3 separate regions of the Homo sapiens genome follow, and all the other regions are linked to region 2. The links are contacts of gene promoters, found by promoter capture Hi-C in blood cells and fetal thymus (Javierre and others, 2016). All regions are on one chromosome and are shown on one strand. The core of a region is centred on a gene start or on the middle of the fragment in contact, and the rest is flanking DNA. Distances in the headings are between cores, read along the strand shown. Region 1 holds the start of RALBP1 (ralA binding protein 1). Region 2 holds the start of FAM210A (family with sequence similarity 210 member A). Region 3 holds the start of VAPA (VAMP associated protein A).

Region 1 (4,701 bases), core at 762-3,261, 4.3 Mb before region 2:
AGCTTCAGGCAAGGCCTCCATAAGGCCCAGCGTGGATCAGTGCCTGCCCCTTGGCCGAATCAGTGCTGTCACAGGCAGAGAATTGTCACTGCCATGCTCACCTGCCCAACCCAGTGGTCAGAGAAGACTGTTCTACTGCGAGAGGAGCCATGAGAAGGCTTTTCCGAAAGTCAAAGACCAATGGCTACCTCAGACCATCCCGTATCCACTCGTGGGAGGCCCCTGAATGAATCTAAGGCCCCAGGGGTTGAACTTTACTGAGTAGGGAGCGCAGAGTACTAGGGACAAATTTACCGCCCGCTTTGAGGAAAGCTGATGTGGGAGCAGAGAGCAAGATGGATAGCAGCGGCCAATCTAAACGGGCAACGAAGTGCCACAGAGTGCTGCACGTAGGAATGCGAGTGACAGGTAGGGTCGTCTATTCCAAGTCCCTCCTCTCCCCTAATAAACTGCCACATTTCAGAAAACACGAAGACTGCTGAAGCCGTTTCCAGCCTTCGCTACGCATTAGCAGAGCAACTCAACAAGCCTGGGTGAAAGGCTTCTCGAAGAAATTCAGTTATCTCTACTGCCAGCCAAACACGGACTGGGCAGCTTTCCTCGGGGGCTGCTCGGTAACTGCTGAGCCGGGGGCGCGCTGAAGCCCTGCAGAAGCCCACACCCGCTTCAGGAATTCCGTGGATGTTCCCGACAGAGGTTTATTCCCGCCTATCCCTACAGGCCCACGGCGCTCTTTCCTCCAATCCCACACCCAGTCGAAGGCGGGGCAGCCGCCCCACCCAGCGGCCAGCCGGGCGGCCCCCAGTCTGGTTTAACTGGTTGGAACGACTAAAGCACGCTGGCGCAAGGAAAGCTCTCAACTTCGGGAGCTGAGGCGCAGGCTGGCCAGAGCGTGGAGAGGAAAGCCCTTTCCATCCTCAAGGCCGTTGCAGGAGATGCCCGCGAGCCACCTTCGCCAGCACCACACCGGGGTAAGCCGTCCGTCCCCGAAACCCGCAAGGCCACCGACTGCGCAGGCGCCTGCAGAGCACTGGCCCTCGGCGCGTTCTCTCGCGCTCTTCTTCAGTCTCCTCAGCGAGCCTGGGGACGAAGGGGGCGCGGTGCCTCCTGGGTGTTGTAGTTTGCTTCCTTGGCGAGAGGCCTTCGGGCTGGCTGGACGCCGGGGCCTTGGGAACTACGCCTCCCAGCGCGCCCCGCGCGAGAGCCCAGGTCGCCTGCCCTTGACGGCTTCAGCCGTCTGAGCGGAGAGGAGGATCCGGGAAGCCGGCTGCGGCGGGAGGAGGGAATGCGCGTGCGCGCTGGACCGCCTCGTCCCGTTCCGTCCCAATCATTGTAAACAGGCAGAGGCTGGGCGGGGTGGGAATGGGGCGCCCGAGGCCGGCCTGGGGCGCAGCGCAGGAGGCGGCTCCGGTGGCTGCGGCGGCAGCGTGAGCGCGAGGAGGCGGAGGCTGCGGCGGGGCGGACGGTCGCGCGGCGGCAGGCACAGGTCAGTCGCAGGGAGCGGTCGCGTGCTAGGGTCGCGGCGATACCCCTGGAGTGCCCGAGGAACCCTCTCCCGCGCCGGCCTCGCGCCCGCGTCTGTCAGGCAGCGTGTGGGGCTCGGTGCTCGCAGCGCTCGGGTTTGAAGTTGGGGGTGGGGGGCGTGGCTGCCCCTGGCGTGGGTTCCTCCCCGGAAAGCTTCGCCCCAGTTTTCGCCCCCCTTGGCCGTGCGTCCCTCCCACTGGCCGACGGGCCTCCCTTCGTGGCGTCCTCGTTTGTGGTGCTCTCGGGGGCCGGGGGTGGAGAGTTAGGAGTCCCCAGGCCTCGGGGAAGCTCTTGGGGGGCGCCTGGACAGAGGCTAGGGGACCCAGCCCTCACGGTTGGTGGATCGTGCCCGGCATAGTGGCCAGGCTCCAGGGCTTACCCAGGGGACCAGGACAGGCTCCTGGTGTCGCCCACCGCTGGCACTGAGCAGTGGGCGCCTTTGGGTGCTGCGATCCTTCCTTCAGGTTTCAGTGGGAATGGACAGACAGATCTGAAGTTGAAAATTCTTTTCACAACTCATGTTCAACTATGTGTGTTGTCAGAATGCTCTTAATGAGGTCAGTGTTCTCCCTCTTTTTTTTAAAACTGATCGTTGTGAGAGTGAAACAGGTTTTACAGAATATTTAACACCTCCGTCTTCCCTGAAGTAATTCTGCTGTTTCAAGTTTTGGGATTCAGTATTACAAAGCCTTCCTCTTGAGCAAGGCCTAGTACAATTCTTCAAGGTCCCTAGCATGTTAATTCGAGGTGTTTTGAACGTGCATATACAGGAAGTGCAGCCGTTTGGCCGTTGAGTTAGTGCTCCATCCAGCCTTGTTAGAAAAGCTTTCGCTGAATTTTTAATTTAGTGGAGTGGTCATGTTCTAATGCTGCAGTACTTTGGGGAGTATTCCATTATACTTGGCAGTTATTAACGAAATACTGAACTTGTGATAAGGTTTTGTTTTGGTGCTCAGCATTTCTAAATGAATAAGTGGGACTGTGAATAAGAAAGATCACCTCACTTTCTGTTTTTAGAGTTATTGTGGTCATTTGATAACTCCTTTCTGTCTTTGTGAAAATAATTACTGTAAGCTGGAGTGGCGGTAGTAGGGGTAGGAAGGAGGTCAGTAGAGTGGTTTCCACCTCTCATTCAAAGTATCTGGTAGATCCAAGTGGGGTAGGTTAGTTAACAGTAGCTTTTTTTTTTTTTTTTTAGTTTTTTATTTTTTGAGACAGAGTTTCGCTCTTGTTGCCCAGGTTGGAGTGCAATGGCATGATCTCAGCTCACCACAGCCTCTGCCTCCTGGGTTCAAACGATTCTGCTGCCTCAGCCTCCTGAGGGGATTACAGGCATGCGCCATCACGCCCGGCTAATTTTATATTTTTAGTAGAGACATTTTCTCCATGTTGGTCAGGCTGGTCTTGAACTCCCGACCTCAGGTGATCTGCCCGCCTAGGCCTCCCAAAGCGCTGGGATTACAGGCGTGTGCCACCGCGCCCTGCCAACAGTAGTAGCTTTTGAGAAGTGACTCTTTAAACAAGGTATCTCGAAACAATGTAATACAACTTAGTTTGCTTTCTCTTCAGGATATTGTTTCTAATTATGGATCTTATCCAGACTATTTCTCCCCTAATTTAGAATAGGAAAGTGGTATCAGAAAGTGCATAATAACTTTAATTTGTACAGTTATATTTGCATAGTTGTTTGCTTGGCAAGAAGAGATCGGGCCCAGCATGTAACCCAAAAGAATATTGTTTCTGTTTTGAAAGATCCCTGATAGAAACTTATGTTAGTTTGTATAAGAGGGTACAAGGAAAAATGCAGATTATTTAGAATACAGGAATTACTATGTAGAAAGTACTGTGACCAGGTGAAGAGGACTTAAAGATACAGAAGGCAGTGTTCCTGCCTTCAGGGTAGTTGAACCTTATCTCTTACTTTAACTGTCAACAAGTACAAGATTGTTTTGATTGAAGAACATATGCGGGTACAGTGGATGTACAAAGGAGATAGTGGTCAGTTTCTTAAAGTGAAGAAAAGAGCTGAAGAAGAGGGAAACTGTAAGGAAAAACTATGTAGAAGGTGATGAAAATCAGGAGTGTACAGGCATAGAAAGAATGGGCATTTAGGTAGAAGGAGCAGTGTGAGAAAAAGCATGGGAGTCTAAAATTAGAGAGTAGCATCTGCAAAAATAGCAAGTATAATACAGGGTGGTGGCAAGACCTGAAACTGGGGAGATAGGCAGAGACCAAATTATGGATCTTGCAGACCATCAGAATAATTACAATTTTATTTTATAAGCAAATAGGAGTCATTGAGAGGACAAAGAAGAGACCTAAGCCAGCTCAGCCCATTTTTAACCCTCTGCTATAGGTCAGGCACTGTATTAGGTACTGTATATTTTATGTCCTTAAGCTTAAAGAAGGCTTAGTCATGACTAATGCAGAAATTGGGGGGCTAGGGCAGGGATGGGGAAGGAACTTTTAGAGGGAAAGGTGGGCAGAAACGTAGGTGAGAAAGAACATGGAACACTTTTTTTTTTCCCAATACAGACACCATCACTCAGTTTTATTGGTTTTGTCTTATTAGCCTCTGAAGTAGGCAATTATTGGTGTGAACATACATTTTGAAAAACATCTGGAGTCAAGAGTGCACGAGTGTCAACTCAGTGCAAGTACTGTTGGTAAGCATTATGTCCCGAGGATGAAATCGGAGGACCAACAGGCCCAGGAGGCTTCACAGCGAACACCACATGCCTCGCGCCCAAAAGGACAGCAGACCGCGCTTCAGAACGGAACCGCCTTCTCCATGTAAACTTTTGACGTAAACTGTGTGCTTCAGGGTGGCCTCTTCTTCTCCGAGATCCTCTCCTGCGTCCCGAGTTTGGGAATGGCCCGGCCGTGCTCAGGCCCAGGCGGTGGAGGCCTCGGTGTAGTAGTGCCGTGCTTGTCGACGTTCCCAGGAGTCCGGGTTCAGAAGCCCCCTCTCCGGTGGATTGGCAGCTTCGCGGTAGCTGGGCTAGTCTTCCTCTGGAAACTCAGTAAAAAGAGTCGGCGCTGTCCGCCTGAGCGCGGGTTTCCTACCGAGCTAGAGGCCAGCCTGCCTCAGGCGCAGAAGGGTTTGCCGCCGGCCTTGGTCAGGGCGAGCAGCTCCCTGGTGGCGCCCAGAGCTGGGGTGTCCTGGGGCGCGGCAGG
Region 2 (4,514 bases), core at 245-2,744:
CCCGGTGTTTAAAAACATTAAAACATGTTTTTAAAAGTCAAAATTACACTCATTTTCTGTAAAATTACAACAGCAATTATCTCAAGAAACTTAAGCATCAGGAACAGGGAATGTAATTGCCTGGTTCTAATGCTTGTATATGCCTATAATGCATTCGATCTGTAAGACCTACACTTTTGCAGTTGTCAATATTCATGTAATGAGATTAATTCTCAACTTACCTCATTTCATATAATAACAAATACAAGCAGTCATCAGAAATTGATGGGTCATCCTTATTTGTGAAAAATAGGCCTCATTCTTGGTTCAAAGTTTGTAACCTCAAATGGGCTAATGCCCACAATTTAGAAGTGATTAGATTGGAAAGCACAACGCTGCAAATGCTGCCTTCCCCAAAGCCAGGTCTATTCATTAATATACCTGTGCCTACTGACAAGAAGGAAGGCTGGTAAAGCACATTTTCAAAGCTGTTTTAAATGGATCAATTTTGGTAAAGAGTAATTCAAGACGGATTGTAAATCTGATCAGTTTTACAACCTTGGAAGGTGGGGACTTGACGCACGACGTTAATATGCACACGCTTCAATAATCTATCCACAGGTAGTTTTGACCCTGATCTCAGGTTGAAAGTCCTCAACTATGGAGCTTTCGAGTTTCAGTACAGTAGGCGCTTTCACTCCCCAGTAGAAATCTGGGGTGATGGCCAAAAAAAGTGTGTTGTCTCCCCCAAACCACACCATGCCAAGTTCAGCCAACGCAGACTAATGCATCCTTAGGTATTTGTCAAGAAGAGGTATAGGCGGTCCCTTTTCTCAGAATCTAACAGGTAAGAATGGCCTCTTGTGGCTTCCCAAACACGGCGGTAAGGACCAGTCTGCCAGTCCCTAATAAGAAATTGCTAATTTTAAAAACCATTCCGAACGCGGGCGCTTCCGGGCCCCTCTTCAACTGGCTTCGGAAGAAGGGGGGAGAACACGGTGAAGGGTTACAGCAAAGGAGGCTGAAAAACAGTCCCAAAGCAAGATTTGCCAGGACACTGGCTCGACCCGGAAGGGCGGGGGGACCTCTCTCGGCCGCCGGGGTCTGTGGGGTCGGCGAGTGTGGACGACCCGTCTGGCAGTCGTACACTGCCACAGCCCGAAGAGCGGCGCACGCGGAGCAGTTGCCGGGTTCGCGCCGCGAGTCAGCTCCCGGACACACGCCCAGGGTTGAAGGTGCCCTCTAGACCCCTCCCGCTGCCCCACAGAGGCCTGGGCCCATGCTACCTCTTAGGACGCTGGAGCCGCCGCCGCCGCTTCCCGCCGCGCAGGCTGGACCACAGCTCCTCGGATGCCACGGCGGTGTCACTCAGCAGAGCAGCCCGACAAAGCGTGGGTCCGCGTGCAGGAACCCGCCGGGCTCAGCCGGACGCTAGCCCCCTGCCGCCCCCGGCCCCGCCAGCCGCGCCCACTAGCAACGTGCTCGCGACCTCCAGTGCCCGCTCAGTGAAGCTTCTGCATGCCGCGCGCGGCACGTCGGGACTCGTAGTTCCGGCGCGGAGGACGTGCGTCGCGGCACTCTCGCCTGACCGTCTCCACGTGACTCTCGCACCTCCGGAAGTGACGTAAGCAGACACGCGTGGCGCGGGCCGCCGTTTCCGCAAACAGAATCGCGTTTGGCTGTGCTGGTGAGTGTGACGGCTGGAACTCCGGCCCTTCCTTTCTTTGTGTTTGTCCCTCGGCCGCCGTGGAGGGGTGGAACTGGCACTCCCACCCCTGACATGGGCTCACTTCGCATTAGCCCTGTGCTTCACTACCCAACGCGTGGGTCTATTGCCTTGTGTCCTCAGTCCCAAGGAAAATGGGAACTCCTTGGGGTGGGCGGGCGCTGTTCCTCCTCCAGACTGGGCGAGCCCGGGTGGGAGAAGCAGCTCGAAGAGCTGCTCCAGCTCGCGCCCCAGGGCCGTGCTGGGGAGGGGCGTGGGGTCCGCAGGTTTGTCTTCAGCGGCGCTTCGGAAACCTGAACCAGAGGTTGAGTAACAGGCCGCGCTAATGACGGAGGGGGTGAACTTGGCTGGAGAAGTCCCTTCTCGCCTCTGTGCGTCCTCTCGGGCCCCGTGGTAGAGGGTCAAGCGGGCGGGTCGGGACTTAGAGCTTATCCCGCTTGGGCTTTATCCCGGCGGCCCTGGCGGCCTGCTCGCTCGTACCCTGAGGAGCTGAAATGACGCAGAGACATAGCTTGCTTCGGAGGTGTGACTGGAAAGCCGGGTCGAAATGTTCGTGTGGTTATTTATCGCGTGTCCATCTCCATGTCAGTCGACCACCTTTCGAAGGTTTCTTGAAGATTCTGAGGGACAGCTCTCTTCCCTATGGAGTGTTTTCATTATTCCACTTTGAGTTTGGTTTGGGTTTTTTTTCCCCCAATTTGTTAAATTGATACATAGAAGTTGCACATATTTGCAGGTGCAGGTGATACTTTGATACATGCATACAATGTGTAACGACTAAATCAGGGCAATTGGGATATTTGTCATCTCAAACATTTATCTTTATGTTGGGAACATTCCAATTTTTCTTTTAGCTATTTTGAACTACACAATAAGTTATTGTTAACTGTGTCCACCCCACTGTACTATCAGGCACTAGATTTTATTTCTTCTGGGGTTTTTTGTACCCATTAACCAATTTCTCTTCTTCATCCCGCTCCTCTTCCTGCTACCCTTCCCAGTCTGTGGTAACCACCAATCCACTCTTTACCTCCATCAGGTCCACATTTTTAGCTCCCACATGAGTAACAACATGATATTGTCTTCATGTGCCTGGCTTATTTCAGTTAACATAATGACATCCGGTTTCATCCATGTTGTTGCAAATGACAGGATTTCATTCTTTTTAATGACTAATATTCCATTGTGTATATATGCTACATTATCTTTATTCATCTGTTGATGAACGCTTAGGTTGATTCCATATCTTGACTATTGTGAATAAACTTGAGACTGCAGATATTTCTTAGATATACTGATTTCCCTTCTTTTGGATCTGTACCCAGATTTGCAAAACTGTTCATCGGACAGGGGATTAACAACCAGAATATAGAAGAAACTCATCTCAATAGCACTAGTTCTATTTTTTGTTTTTTGAAGAACCTCCATCATACTTTTCCCAGTATGTAAATTAGTGGCTGTGCTAATTTACGTTCTCCCTAACAGTGTACAAGTGTTCCCCCTTTTCTGCATCCTGCATCCTCATCAGCATCTTTTTTTTTTTTTTTTTTTTTTTTTTTTTTTGTGTGTGTGTGTGTGTGTGTGTGTGACGGAGCCTTGCTCTGTCGCCCAGGCCGGAGTGCAGTGGCTTGATCTCAGCTCACTGCAACCTCCACCTCCCGGGTTCAAGCGATTCTCATGCCTCAGCCTCCCGAGTAGCTGGGATTACAGGCGCACATCACCATGCCCGGCTGATTTTTGTGTTTTTGGTAGAGACGGGGTTTCACTATGTTGGCCAGGCTGGTCTAGAACTCCTGACCTCAAGTGATCTGCCCACCTCCACCTCCCAAAGTGCTGGGATTACAGGTGTGAGCCACCGTGACGGCCTCAGCATCCATTTTTTAAAAATCTTTTTGATAAAAGCCGTTTTAACCGAGATGAGATGGTATCTCATTGTGGTTTTGACTTGCATTTCCCTGATATTACTGATATTGAGCATTTTTTACGTATATACCTGTTGGCCATTTGTGTGTCTTTTAAGAAATGTCTATTCAGATCTTTTGCCCATTTGTAGTAGGATTGCTTCTTTTTTTTTGCTATTGAGTTGAGTTTCTTCTGTATTCCGGTTGTGAATCCCGTCAGATGAATGGTTTTGCAGATATTTTCTCCCATTCTCTAGGTTATCTCTTCACTCTTGTTTCCTTTGCTGTGCAGAAGTTTTTTAGCTTGATGTAATCCCATTTGTCTGTTTTTGCTTTTGTTGCCTGTGCTTTTGAGGTCTTACCACAAAAATCTTTGCCCAGACCAGTGTCTTGAAGCATTTCCACAATGTTTTCTTCAAGTAGTTTCATACTTTTGGGTATTAAATTTTTCAGTCCATTTTGATTTGATTTTTGCATATGGTGAGAGAGAGTGGTCTAGATTTCCCAGCACCGTTTTTTGAAGAGACTGTCTTTTCACTATGTACGTTCTTGGCACCTTTGTTGAGAACAAGTTGGCTGTAAACATGATGCTTGGTTTTAAACGTTCTTACTTATTTTTGTGGTCATCTGGAATGCTGTGTCATTTCTTCTGACCTAATTATGTTTTTATTATGTCACATCTGTGATATCATGAAAGTGACATAAGTAAAATTCATGCTTAAATCTCAATATTAATTTTAGGTAATAAATATAGCTAAAGATAAGTCACATTTCTTTATTTGAATTTAAAGCCAATTTCCATTAGGAAATCAATGGCAGAGGAGGAGAAATAGGAATTTGATAAGTTGGTATCCAGTTTTTCTAGATAATCATTTTAAGTATTTGTTCTGAAAATCACTTTTCTGATT
Region 3 (4,456 bases), core at 425-2,924, 3.8 Mb before region 2:
TGAAGAGCAAAAGAACAAAGCTTCCACAATGTGGAAAAGGACCCAAGCAGGCTGCCCCTGCAGGCTGGGGTGGCCAGTTTTTATTGGCTTATTTGTCCCTGCCCATGCCCTGCTGATTGGTCCATTTTACAGAGTGCTGATTGGTCCATTTTACAAACCTCTAGCTACCTACAGAGTGCTGATAGGTGCGTTTTTACAGAGCACTGATTGGTGCATTTTACAAAACTCTAGCTAGCTACAGAGTGCTGATTGGTGCATTTTACAATCCTCTTGTAAGAAAAGTTCTCCAAGTCCCCACCCAACCCAGAAATCCAGCTGGCTTCACCTCTCACTCCCAGGAATTTCAGGGCTGAAAACACATTCCTCGTGGGTGGCACAATCTTCTGTGAATGCCAGGCTAGCAATTCCAGCAGGCTGTTCCTGGATGGACCCTAATACCTGGATCGCACATGAAAACTTGGATTTGGTGCCTACTTCTAGACTGCTGTTTCGTCTCGTTTATTTTCTAGACAAACTGTGCTGCTCCATGGCAGTAGCATCAATATGTCTTTTGTTTCGTGGCGCTACCTAGGGATTTAAATTCAAACCGTATCACAAAATACAATAAAGGTTTATTTACAGCACATTGGTTTCATTTGACGTTCCTGTACCGGACTACCCTGGCAATCGGCTAAAGTTTTGTCAGCAAGTTTGCTGCTGGGATTTTTCTTATTTGGTTCAGTTTACTACAGCCTATCGTAAGTGATGCAGATGGAGTTAGTTTCTAACATGTGAACGTGAGAACTGTTTTGGTTTGGGTCCATCATTAAAACTGAAGAAGATTATTTGGGTTCGATGGTGTAGATTTTTGACTTTTATTTCTAGTTTCTGTGTGCTTTGTCATATTTCCCCTTGCTTCCTAGACGAGGTGTGTTTCCTTATCTGATTTTGCATCACTGGAGAGAACTCAGGAAGCAGGAGAGGCTGAATTGGATACCACGGGGAATGCAGCCCTGCCAACAGAGGACTGGATAGAATTAGAGCAAACGGACACATCCCCCCACGCCTGTTCTCCACAGGGCAGATTTTATTAATATATTTCTAACATTGGGGCCTCGTTTCAGTCTTCAAGTTTTTTCTTTTTTAGCGCAAACTAGACGCGCTCTGAGAGCCAAAATTAGCGTCCGCGAACCCCACCCCATTGCCTCCAACAGACCTAGCTCTCCTTTCCACCCTCAAACAGCCGTTACTACAGTTCCCAGCAAGCACCGCGCAGGGCCGCAAAGGGCCAGGCCCTCGGCGAAGGCCCCGCCCCGCAGGGGGCATGCCGGGAGTTGTAGTGAGTGGGCGCTTCCCTACTACTACTTGTCCCTTCCACTGGGCATTCCCACTTGGAAGAGTGTGATGCGCTGCCAGAGCAGTTTCTCTAGTTCCGTACTCGGAGCTCAAGGTGACAGAGGACTGCGCTTCCAGCCCTGCGCTGCGCATCGCGTCGGTCCCGCGGACCTTTGCCCCGCCTCCTTCCACACCCGTTCCCTTGACAGCTGGGCTGCGCTCCGGGCCGCGGCAAGCCGCGAGCGCGCAGGCGCAGCAGCCCCGCGCCGCGCTAGGCCGGCCTGGAGGGCGGGACAAGCGCTAGAAGCTCCCGGCCGGGGGCGCGCACGTAGGCACGCAGAGGCCGTCACGTGGGTCGCCGAGGCTCGCAAGTGCGCGTGGCCGTGGCGGCTGGTGTGGGGTTGAGTCAGTTGTGGGACCCGGAGCTGCTGACCCAGCGGGTGGCCCACCGAACCGGTGACACAGCGGCAGGCGTTAGGGCTCGGGAGCCGCGAGCCTGGCCTCGTCCTAGAGCTCGGCCGAGCCGTCGCCGCCGTCGTCCCCCGCCCCCAGTCAGCAAACCGCCGCCGCGGGCGCGCCCCCGCTCTGCGCTGTCTCTCCGATGGCGTCCGCCTCAGGGGCCATGGCGAAGCACGAGCAGATCCTGGTCCTCGATCCGCCCACAGACCTCAAATTCAAAGGTAGGCAGAACGGGGACACCCCCGGGTGGGGTGGGGCGCGCGGACCGCTGGCTGTCGGCGGGGGGGCGCGGAGGGCACGTCCGCGGCCCTGGCCCGAGGGAGCGCCCCCTCCCCCACGCCCCGGCGCCTTCCCTTTCCCGGCTGCTTTCTTGCCGCCACCTCGGCCGGCCTGCCCCTTGCTCCGGCCCGCTTCATCCCCTCCCGCCCGCCCTCGCTGCGGTGCGCGCGCCGGCCGGGGCGAGGCGGAGGGGAGCCCGGCCCTGGCGCCGCCGCCGCCGCCATCTTGCGGTCCCGCGGGGGCGCCTCCTGGGCGTCCGGTCCCGCCCGCGCCGCGGTCCGCCTGGGCCCGCGTCCTTGGCCCCAGAGGCCGACGGCGTGCTTCGGCGGGGCGTGGGCGGCTGGGCACCCGAGGGCGTGCGCTCTGGGCTGCGGCGGGGAGTGGGCTCTGGAGGTGGCGCAAGCTGCGTCTGTCGCCCGCTCCCGGCTGTCAGCGGCGCGGGGAGGCTAGGGCACGGCGCGGGACCCCTTGGGAGTGAGAGCCGCCCCCCGACCCCTGCCCCGGCCCGGGGAGAGCTCGCTGCAGCCGGCCCTCGGGTTCCGCGGAGGGCGTCGCTTGTCACCTTTCCGCCAGGTTTAGAACTCGGCCGTCAGGTGTAGGACGCGCCGGGGAGGTGGAGAGTCCTTGGAGGTGCCTGGCGAGGGCTGCCCGGTGCTGTTGGCACGGACCCAGGTGCGTGCGGGCAGGAGCGATGCGTCAGCCGCAAACGGAGAGTTGTAGGTTCATAGTAGCGGGGCTTCCTGCCTTCTACGACATTTCAGTGTGCCACCCGCGTGCTTTTATTTAGCCCTTTAGTTGAGCTCCTCTGCTGAGAAACCTTCAGTGCGTGTGACTTTTTTGCTTTTACGTTTGCGGTTTCCGACAGATCCTGAGAAGGCTGATAAGGTGTCACCCAGCTCTGGAACTTTGTAGGTTTTTGTAGTACTGCCTGTGATAAGTTTTTTAGTCTGACTTGGTGATCCTGGAAGAATCCCAGGGGCTTTTGGTCGGTTTCCTTGTCAATATGTAGTGTACTTTAGGAAAGAGAGTTAAAATGTACAGATTTTTATTTTTTTTCTTTGTTTTTAAGGAATACTGAAAGAGTGTGAACATCTAATAGAAAGTAGGTTCCTTCCTATCTTTAGTTAAGTGTAAAGTGAGTCCCGTTTTGGAAGTCTATGTCTTGTATTTCAATTGTTGAATGAGAACAATTTTTGTGAGGTGTATAGCAATTCTAGTGCTAAAAGAAAAAATTAAATCCTTTATTGTTGTGTAAGGCTGAGTCCAAGAGAAAGCCAACTACATTGTTTTCCATAGGAAAAACTTCAGGTTTAGGAATTTAAAATATATTCTGGAATTATGAGATTAATATTGCATAACTACATTGCAAGCTTTTTAGTGCGTTTACAAATTTCTTTGAATAGAAGTGTAAGTGAGCTACTTGTTGGGTAAGGATTTGGTTTTAAGGTGCAGTGAATGTATTTTATTGCAAGTTTATGTAAGTTGTGTGATTTTTACGTAGTTGTAGCTGGGGGAAAACCTTTGAGGAATTATGAAGAGTCCTGACTCAGCCATTATCTTGAGATAATTTAATGTAAATCTGTATGGTGTGTTTTTTTTTAATATTTCGTTTTTATCTTTTGATTGGCTGTGTTTACAGTGAACATTTCCTCTACTGGATAACTATGTGTAAATTGCCATTAGGGATTTATAAGCCTTTACAACCAGTTTTAGGCCAGGAAATGTCCACAGAGTTTGAAGTTTTCTCCTTAGGGAAGTTGTTATGTTGCTATAGTAAGGGAGTAATAATAGTGGAGAAGCAAGTTTAAAAAACAAGCAAAAGCCCTACACAGTGACTTACTCATATATTTCCTTTTTTGGGGGTGTTGGAGAATTACAGCTATGATTATAGAACTCATTGTTTTTGTGTTGCCAGTAAAAATAAGACTAGCCAGGGAAGCAGAAAAGGTGTGTAGATGGTATAACAGAGACACAACCGTGTCTGAGGAAAGAAGCCCTTTCTCTATGTGCCCCATCCCTCCCTTAGGAAGCATTTAAGGAAAAGGCTTGTTTTTCATTTCAGGGGAGGTTTAGGCCAAGAGAGTGGTTGAGTAAACACACTGCTGTGAGAGAATGCCTGGTACTTAAATGCCCAATAGTTTGTTGTGTGTTTCAGTTTAAAGATGGAGATGATGGGGAGGATTGGGAGGTGACATTTGGTGTTTGATTCCTTAATATTATCGTTTTAGTCAAAGGTAAATTGTTGGCTTTGATGGAAACCTTTGTGTATTTAAATGCACAGTTCAACACTGAGGAGATTCATTTAGAATGTACAGTCTACTTGGGCTTAGTTTATGATAGAAAAAAATCATTTAACTGACTTACCCTAAGTCATTCAAAACTTTCTAAGTGAAGGACTTTTAGA

Evidence for each region. Contacts are between HindIII fragments. The CHiCAGO score rates a contact against its expected background, and 5 or more counts as called.
Region 1: a fragment that was not itself captured here is called in contact with the fragment with the promoter of FAM210A in region 2 in 1 of 17 cell types (fetal thymus); the score reaches 6.4 in fetal thymus.
Region 3: the fragment with the promoter of VAPA here is called in contact with the fragment with the promoter of FAM210A in region 2 in 1 of 17 cell types (non-activated CD4 T cells); the score reaches 5.4 in non-activated CD4 T cells.

The regions. Positions count from the first base shown.
Region 1 is chr18:9,474,206-9,478,906 of GRCh38, forward strand. It overlaps RALBP1 (ralA binding protein 1), which reads left to right and starts at 1,308. Exons shown (of 10, transcript NM_006788.4): 1 at 1,308-1,486. It also overlaps the pseudogene IRX4P1. RefSeq lists a silencer at 1,239-1,648 and enhancers at 1,272-2,140, 1,879-1,938. The HindIII fragment of the contact is 672 bases long and covers 1,676-2,347 here.
Region 2 is chr18:13,725,064-13,729,577 of GRCh38, forward strand. FAM210A (family with sequence similarity 210 member A) reads right to left here and starts at 1,495. Exons shown (of 4, transcript NM_152352.4): 1 at 1,266-1,495. RNMT (RNA guanine-7 methyltransferase) reads left to right here and starts at 1,610. Exons shown (of 12, transcript NM_003799.3): 1 at 1,610-1,666. RefSeq lists an enhancer at 673-1,598. The HindIII fragment of the contact is 3,253 bases long and covers 1,489-4,514 here.
Region 3 is chr18:9,912,342-9,916,797 of GRCh38, forward strand. It overlaps VAPA (VAMP associated protein A), which reads left to right and starts at 1,675. Exons shown (of 6, transcript NM_194434.3): 1 at 1,675-1,994. The coding sequence starts at 1,916. LOC124904245 (a long non-coding RNA gene) reads right to left here and starts at 1,607. Exons shown (of 2, transcript XR_007066284.1): 1 at 1,371-1,607; 2 at 592-992. RefSeq lists silencers at 1,610-1,659, 1,870-2,659 and an enhancer at 2,177-2,794. The HindIII fragment of the contact is 3,402 bases long and covers 19-3,420 here.